Linked DNA regions of Homo sapiens: region 1 is linked to region 2. Evidence: promoter capture Hi-C in human tissues and cell types (Jung and others, 2019). All regions are on one chromosome and are shown on one strand. Each heading gives the region's core, a stretch centred on a gene start or on the middle of the fragment in contact. The rest is flanking DNA. Distances are from core to core; before and after follow the strand shown. Region 1 has its middle 13 kb from the start of ASCC2. Region 2 holds the start of HORMAD2 (HORMA domain containing 2).

Region 1 (4,374 bases), core at 958-3,457, 230 kb before region 2:
AAGCTTTCATGCTGGCTCTAGCCTAAAGCCCCACCCAGGGAGATGAAAGGGTGGTTCTGTCTGCCTCCATGCAGCCTGGAGACTCTGCACTCAGACCACCCATCAAAGTGGCAGTTGGCATGTTCAGGTCTCTCTATAATCATCAGGGTGGGACAATAAAGCCACAGAACCAGGAGGTAGAAACAATTCCTCAAGGGCTGGGACATGGTTTAAATTCAGAGGGGGTTGGGTCAGCGAACATTTTGCTTCACGTCAAGATTTAACATTTTTTATTTGGTAGCATCTTGAACTTTTTTTTTTTTTTGAAACAGGGTCTTGCTCTGCTGCCCAGGCTAAAGTGCAGTGTCAGTGATCACAGCTCACTGAAGCCTTGACCTCCTGGCTCAAGTGATCCTCCTGCTTCAGGCTCCTGAATGGCTGGAATTACAGGCACAAGCCACTGTGCCCAGCTATGTAAAAAAATTTTTTTCTTAGAGATGAGGTCTTGCTCTGTTGCCCAAGCTGGTTTCAAACTCCTGGACTCAAGCGATCCTCACAGCTCAGCCTCCCAAAGTGTTAGGATTACAGGTGTGAGCCACCATGCCCAGCCACATCTTGTACTTTCCATGTAGGATCTGAAAGGGAGGAATTTCAAGATGTCTCTGGGCTACGCTGGTGATGGGAAATATTGACACTTAGTGGTTTTGGCCATTAAACCTGGGGTTTCAATCCAGTGGAATATCGCCAGCTCTTTAGCTTTCCTTGAGAGAGTTTGAAAATAAGTTACTGGAAGATTTGCCTTGACCATCAAGAAAAGAGGGGAACCCTACTTTCTCTTCTTGCTGGGTATCTACTCTCTGGGCTTGCACAGTCCCCAGAGATTTCAGTATGCAGCTGCTCTGACCTAATTCCTTGAGTACAATGGCCCCTTCACACCTCAGGGCACTAGCCCATGCTGCTTCCTCGGCCTGAAATAACCCCCTGCTCTCCTTGTCAAGGTAAAGCCTCCTCTTCATCTCATTTTTTCCCAGGTTATAATCACTTTCCTGATATACACATTCCTAGTTAGCTCCCTTCACTTCCCTTGTGTGTCACTGGTCACAGCTTATCTTCTTGTATTTATTGTGTGGTCAATCAGTGATTGACTCCTTCATTAGGCTATGTGTTCTGACAAATTAGAGACCTCATCTGTTTTGTTCACCAACCTTATCCCCAGTGCTTAGCTTGGTACCTGGCATCTTACAGTGTGCATTAAATATTTGCTGGCTGATGATTGAATCAAAGTGCTAGGATAATCTAGACCAACTCTTCCAATTCCAAGTAAAAAACCATGGTCCAGAGATGGGCAATGACTTGCCCAGGGTCACAAAGAAGGCATCTAATAGCTCCTTGCTGATTACTGACTTCCTTAAAATACCTTGGCCCTGAGACAGGGCCATTTTGAGGAGAGGCAAAACTGAGAGATTGAGTTGTTTTCCATGCTGTCTTAGTCCGTTTGTGCTGTTAAAACAGAACACTTGAGGCTGAGATATTTACAAAGAACATAAATTTATTTCTAATGGTTCAGGAGGCTGGGAAGTCCAAGATTAAAGCACTAGTAGGTTTGGTTGTCTGGTGAGGCCTTGCTCTCTGCTTCCAAGATGGCGCCATGTTGCTGTATCCTTCAGAGAGAAGGAACAGTGCATCCTTGCATGGCAGAAGGAAGAAGGGCAGGAGGGTTGAACTCCCTCCATCAAATTCTTTTATGAGGCTGGGCCCGGTGGCTCACGCCTGTAATCCCAGCACTTTTGGAGGCCGAGGTGGGTGGATAACCTGAGGTTAGGAGTTCAAGACTAGCCTGGCCAAAATGGTGAAACTCCATCTCTACTAAAAATACAGAAAATTAGCTGGGTGTAGTGGCAGGTGCCTGTAATCCCAGCTCCTTGGGAGGCTGTAGCAGGAGAATTGCTTGAACTCGGGAGACGGAGATTGCAGTGAGCCAAGATTGTGACAACGCACTCCAGCCTGTGCAACAAGAGCAAAAAAAAAAAAAAAAAAAAAATCCTTTCATGAGGGCACCTAATCCTATTCATGAGGGCCGTGCCCTCATGACTCAATCACCTCGTAAAGGCTCCACCTTTTAATACTGTCACATTGGCAACACCTGAATTTTGAAGGGGACACATTCAAACCATAGCACACGTTCTGAACAACTGTAGTTCCTCTTCTTAACAGAAGGCTCCCCATGAGGCACAAATTCTAAACCCAAGTCCATGAAGGGGCTCCCAAGATCTGTGTCCCCCTTGAATTATACACAGTTGTGTTTGGGGAATATTTTTCAGTAGAGAGACTGAGAGGCTTCATCTGATTCTCAAAGAAACATCCTCAAAAGTCTAAGAGCAACTCACGCCAGCACCCTGCTGAACCTCTTCTTCCCTTCTAGCTAGAAAAGCCATCTTAAGGCCCAAGAATCTCTGGTGACAGAAACATGGCTTAGTGTGAGGCTGTGAGGCAGGCAGTGGTCAGGGCAATGGTCAGTGGCTAATACATGGAATCAGAGAGAAATATATTCTCAGCTTCAGTTGGTTAGGGACGTCAGGGAAAGCTTCCAGGAGCAGGTGCCAATCAAGCTGGGCTATAATGGACTGTGAAGGTTCAAGAGGCTAAAAGTGATGTGGGGAGGGAAACACAGTCCAGAATTCCCTTCAGGCAGCCCCAATGTCTTCACCAATGCCCATTCCCAAAAGGGGAGCTTGTTTAAATTGTCCAGTATTTGGTGTCATTTTCGTCCAGAGATCATCTTGGATGTAGAGTTTCTTTTTCCCTTTCCCTTTATTTTATTTTTTATTTTTTTGAGTTGGGTTCCCACTCTCACTCAAGCTGGAGTGTAGTGGTGTGACCATGGCTCACTGCAGCCTTGAACTCCTGGCCTCATGTGATCTTCTTGCCTCAGCCTGCCAAGTAGCTAAGACTACAGGCATCGACTAATTTTTTTTTTTTTTTTTTTTTTTTAGAGATGAGATCTTACTATGTTGCCCAGGCTGGTCTCAAACTCCTGGGCTCAAGTGATCCTCCTGCCTCGGCCTCTCAAAGTGCTGGAATTACATTATAGGTGTGAGTTGCTGCACCCAGCCCCGTCTCCCTTTATTTTTTATTATTTTATTTTCTTTTAATTTTTATTTTATATATATATATTTTTTTTTTTTTTTTGACAGAGTCTGACTCTGTCACCCAGGCTGGGGTGCAATGGCATGATCTCGGCTCACTGCAACCTCTGCCTCCTGGGTTCAAGTGATTCTCCTGCCTCAGCCTCCTGAGTAGCTGGGATTACAGGCATGAGTCACTGCACCCGGCTATTTGGCTATTTATTTGTTTTTAATGGAGATGAAACTTTGCCAAGTTGCCAAGGCTGGTCTCTAATTCCTGAGCTCAAGCAACCTGCCCACATGGGCCTCCAAAAGTGCTGGGATTACAGGTGTGAGCTACTGCGGCTGGCCCATTATTTCATTTTTTTGAGACAGATTCTTGCTGTGTTACCCAGGCTAGACTGCAGTGGCACAATCACAGCTAACTGCAGTCTCAGCCTTCCAGGCTGAAGTGATCCTTGATGCTCAGCCTCCCAAACAGCCGGGACTACAGGAGTGTGCCACCACACCTGGCTAATTTTTTATTTTTATTTTTATTTTTATTTTTTGAGATGGAGTCTCACTCTGTCACCCAGGCTGGAGTGCAATGGCACAATCTCGGCTCACCGCAACCTCCATCTCCTGGGTTCAACCTGCCTCAGCCTCCCAAGTAGCTGGGATTACAGGCATGCACCACCACACATGGCTAATTTTTACATTTTTTAGTAGAGATGGAGTTTTGACATCTTGGCCAGGCTGGTCTTGAACTCCTGACCTTAGGTGATCCACCTGCCTCAGCCTCCCAAAGTGCTGGAATTACAGGCATGAGCCACAGCACCCAGTCCCCTCTCCCTTTAGAAGAAAACATAGACTGATTTTGTGATGCCAACCACTGCCATTGGCCCTTTGTCCTTGCTGCTGAATTATTCATCCTGCACAATGAATTATTAATTTCCAATTTTGGAGAGCAAATGCCAGGCAAATAGGTAGAAATGGAAATGGAACTGGGACCCTGGGCATGGAGCCACAGACATCCCTAGGTCCTCCAAAGCACAGGCCACCACGGCCAATAAATTATACAGGAATCCACAAGGGGCTCACCCTGAAATGCACTTGACAGAGGGTGAAGTAGGTACAAGATTATGGTGGCCCTGAAGTGGCTGGGCTCCATTACCCCTGGGCTCTCAGACCTCTCGCTTTCCTGAGCCTTAGCTGTAGCCACCCTTTGGCTGACTCTGGCATAGGGATGTATTGCATATTTAGAGTGGGCTCAAGCAGCATTCTGTGGAGT
Region 2 (4,475 bases), core at 873-3,372:
AAGCCTGTAATCCTAGCACTTTGGGAGGCTGAGGTGGGTGGATTGCTTGAGGTCAGGAGTTCAAGACCAGCCTGGCCAACATGGTGAAACCCCATCTCTACTAAAAATACAAAAATCAGCCGGGCATGGTGATGCATGCCTGTAACCCCAGCTACTTAGGTGGCTGAGGCAGGAGAATCACTTGAGCCTGGGAGGTGGAGGTGGCAGCGAGCCAATATCACGCCACTGCACTCCAGCCTGGGTGACAGAGCAAGACTCTGTCTCACAAAAAAAAAAAAAAAAAAAAAAAAAAAAAATTAGATTGAGAGAAATTCTATGAAAGAAACAGAATAACGAATAACTGTGTTTGCTGGTGGGGTAGACTGCCAATAGTATAGGGCAGAGAGGGGTAAGTCTTTGGATATGGTAGCAGTTGACTGAGCTCAGATCTGAAGGCAGAAGAAAATTAGAACAGCCAGCACAGAGGGCCTAGTGATCCAGCCAGAGAGGCTGGTAAATGCGGAGGCTGAGAAGGGCTGGTGCAGACAAACCATCTGTGTGGTTGGAGCTTAAAAAGCAGTTACTTCCGGAAAGTATAGGGTGAACGCAGTAGTTCTCAACAGAGGGCAATTTTGCACACCCCATGGGACATTTGGCAAAGTCTAGAGAAATTTTTGGTTGTTATGATGGTGGGGGTGGGGAGAAGGTTGAGAAAACTTGCACTAAAAGAATATTTCAGCCCAAATTTCAGTTTTAGTCATTATGTTCTAAACTCATGTTCTCGCCAACTTGAATAGTTTTTTTTTTCTTTCCTGCAGAAACAAAATAAGAACAGGTTTCAAGTGGCTCACTCTTTCATCTACTCTCTTGGGAAATCCCCTTGGGGAGGTTCATGGGACTCCAGGAGCCTTTGGAAAGCACCACAGGATACGAAATATCTACCTAAACAGGTGAGAAACGATCCAAGGAGCCACACCCCCAACTGCTCCCACAGTTACCAGGGCAGAAAAAACTGAGATTAGGGGTAGGGCACAAAGGAGAATATATTTATGTTTTATTTGCATAATTACAAATTAATGTTAAAAAGAATGCAAAGTCAGGTCCAGGGTAGGGATGAAGAGGTTGCAGATGCCCTCAAGTATTGGAAAGCTCTGGCCTTCTGGCCTTATGTCTTTTTTCTTTCTTTTCTTTTTTTTTATTTTTGAGACAGGGTCTCCCTCTGTTGCCCAGGCTGGAGTGCAATGGTACGATCTTGGCTCACTGCAACCTCAAACTCCCCGGCTCAAGCGATCCTCCTACCTCAGCCTCCCGAGCAGCTGGGACTACAGGCGCACGTCAGGTGGCCCAGCTAATTTTTGTACTTTTTAAAATTTTTTTGAGACGGAGTCTCGCTCTGTCGCCCAGGCTGGAGTGCAATGGCGGAATCTCGGCTCACTGCAACCTCAGCCTCCTGGGCTCAAGCGATTCTCGTGCCTCAGCTTCCCAAGTAGCTGGGACTACAGGCGCGCGCCACCACGCCCAGCTAATTTTTGTATTTTTTGTAGAGACGGGTTTTCAACATGTTGGCCAGGCTGGTCTCGAATTCCTGACCTCAAGTGACGCGCCCGCCTCAGCCTCCCAGAGTGCTGGGATCCCAGGTGGAGCCACCGCGCCGCACTTCTCGGGCCTTCTTCTAACTCGGGTCCCTGGGCCCCCCAGGCTCTCGCTTCCCTCCCCTACGCCGCCCCGCGCCCGCCTCAGACCTCTCTGGGACCCGCCGGCCTGGCGTCCTGGCCCGCCCGAGCCCCACGGTCCCTCGGGTCCTAACCTCGGCGGGGCAGGCACCTCCTCAGGAAGCCCCGGAGCAGGCTGTCGTTGTATAGGTGGCCCAGGCTGGCGGCCCCTGACCGAAGGTCGCGTCGGGTCAGTGTGCAGCCCGTGGCTGAGAGGCGGCTGCTGAGGGGCCGGGCGGGCTAGGGGCCGGCTAGCCGCCGTTCGCCCCTGCTTTGCATATTCATGAAGTCTAGCGAGGCCGGTCGCCCAGGCTAGCCGTGGACGGGTCATGAATTATTCATGAGGAAACCTCTGGTCCCGCCCAGAAAGGCCTCGTTGACTATTCATGAGCCGAGGAGCGGGTTTGGGCCGGAAAAGGCCGTTGACCCCCGGTGGGAGGGAAGCGTCGACGAGCTGAGGTGAGGGCTGTTGAGACGCGAGGTCTCGGCCCAGAGAGGGCACTCGGGCGTTGTTAGTTCTGTCTTTATGTCAAAAAACAATTTTTTTTTCTTTTCTTATTACTTAAGGCTTTAAGTTGGATTTGAAAGTATCATATTTCGTGAGGGCCTAAAGTACTGTGAAGAGAATCGGGAGGGCAGGGGGCTGAGGAGGAAGGCAAAAGGGAGGCGATTTCCCCCAGAACTGGACAGAGAGCACCCAGGTAGTTTTGAAATTCAGATTTTTCTGGACATGAAATCAAACTTGCTGAGCAAGCAGCAGCCATAATGAGCCATGATGAGGCTGGCAGGGCAGACGATGTCTGTGCCCGACATTGGAGGGGGCCGTGTGTGGTGGAGCTTTGGGGAAGTTTATCTTACCTGGGTCAGATTCTCCCCAGCCATTGAGGTTTTCTGCCAGGATCGATGCCTGGTACAGGCCAAGAGGTGAGAGAGGTGGGGACAAGACACCCCGCCCCCCTTGACCTCAGCTCCCCTTTCACTTTAGTGAGGATTTGCCAATTAATCCCTATGGACTTTAGTTCCCTAAACAGAGGGAGAGAGTCTTGAACCTCAGGATTAGCCAATCGCCAAAATGTGTCCGAGTACGCAGGGCACTGGACAGGCTGTGCAGTACATCGTGTACTCAGCTGGTAGAAATGAGGGGTGGTTCTGGCCCCTAAAGGGGTTTTTAATCTCAGCAGGATCATAATCTAATTTCTCCTCCATTGGACCATCAATCTGTTGAGGTAGGAACAGTATTTTACATCTCGTAATCCTGCATGTTGTTGCCTGGCACATTGTAGTTGCCTCGTAGATGTTGAATGAATGAATAATTGAAATAGCATGAAAAAGATATTAAAAAGTCAAAAGAGCATGAACAAATACTCAATTAATATAGTGGAAGCCATTTTCTCTGAATGAGCACAGGTAGGGGAATTACCAGGGCCAAATGGAATTTGTTAAAATGGTGAATAATTTATTGAAGCAAGCTCTGTTGGAAGGTCTAAGTAATTGGGCGAACTTTGGCAAACCAAGTTCCCTTGCTTAGCCTCACTTTCCTTTTCTTTTTTCTTTTTTTTTTGTGAGATGGAGTCGAGCTCTGTGCCAGGCTGGAGTGCAGTGACGCAATCTCAGCTCACTGCAACCTCCACCTCTCGGGTTCAAGCGATTCCCCTGCCTCAGCCTCCCATGTAGCTGGGACTACAGGTGTGCACCACCACGCCCAGCTAAATTTTTTTATTTTTTTTTATTTTTAGTAGAGACAGGGTTTCACCATGTTGGCCAGGATAGTCTCGATCTCTTGACCTCGTGATCCTCCCACCTCGGCCTCCCAGAGTGCTGGGATTACAGGTGTGAGCCACTGCACCTGGCCCCTTTTCTTTATAGTTTTATGTTTAGGTTTAAATCCATGATCCATTTTGCATTAATATTTGTATACAGTGTGAGATTTAGGTTAAGTTTCTTTTAATTCTCTGTTCTTCCCCCCACCCTCCAGATGTCCTTTTGTTTCAGCATCATTTGCTGAAAAAAAGATTCTTCCTCCACAGAATTGGATCTTCTTTAAATCAAAGGGGTTGGAAGATGTCTGTGCTCCCTTCCAGCTTTAGGAATCTATTGAACCCATTTATGTTAACGTACACTTCTTTTGAGTAAAGCCATTCTTAACAACATGCATGTGTAAGGAAGGTAATATAGTTACATTTCAGAATCCAGCTATTGGATAGTGTTCACCTGATAGAAAAGGGATTTTCTTGTAAAAAACGGTTTTTGAAGATTGAGAAAGATGGGTAGAGAGCCTTCATAAATCAACTATGATTATATTTGGGAAAATGTAATAAAACTTTGGCTTTTGCTTCACTTGGAATGGTTAAAAAAGTGGTTTAGGCCTTAGTAAACTAAACAGCAGCTGGCTAATCTTTATGTGAATCTTGGACTCACACATAGTAGGGGTAAAATAGGAAGTAATTGTGCCACCATATAAAATAGGGCAATTGAAGGCGTGGTGTGGTGTCTCATATGTGTAATCCCAAAACTTTGAGAGGCCAAGAGTTCGAGGCCAGTCTGGGCAACATAGTGAGACCTCCCCCTCCACCCGCCCGCCCAACTCTACAAAAATAAAAAATTTTTAAAAATTAGCAGGGCATGGTGGTGCATGCATATAGTCTCAGCTACTTGGAAGGCTGAGATAGGAGGATCACTTGAGCCCAGAAGTTTGAGGTTGCAATGAGCTGTGATTATGCCAGCCTAGGTGACAGATCATGCCACCGCACTTTACTCTGTCTCAAAAAAAAAAAAAAGAAAAGA

Evidence for each region. Contacts are between HindIII fragments. The study calls those that stand out against the background at their distance.
Region 1: a fragment that was not itself captured here is called in contact with the fragment with the promoter of HORMAD2 in region 2 in 1 of the 25 tissues and cell types used here (bladder).

What each region holds. Positions count from the first base shown.
Region 1 is chr22:29,848,865-29,853,238 of GRCh38, forward strand. No RefSeq gene overlaps it. Among named protein-coding and RNA genes, the nearest start is that of ASCC2, 13 kb to the left of the region's middle. The HindIII fragment of the contact is 4,899 bases long and covers 1-4,374 here.
Region 2 is chr22:30,078,342-30,082,816 of GRCh38, forward strand. HORMAD2 (HORMA domain containing 2) reads left to right here and starts at 2,123. Exons shown (of 11, transcript NM_152510.4): 1 at 2,123-2,150. HORMAD2-AS1 (HORMAD2 and MTMR3 antisense RNA 1) reads right to left here and starts at 1,916. Exons shown (of 5, transcript NR_110541.2): 1 at 1,787-1,916. RefSeq lists silencers at 155-274, 1,724-1,773 and enhancers at 325-404, 1,579-2,276, 2,114-2,193. The HindIII fragment of the contact is 22,926 bases long and covers 1-4,475 here.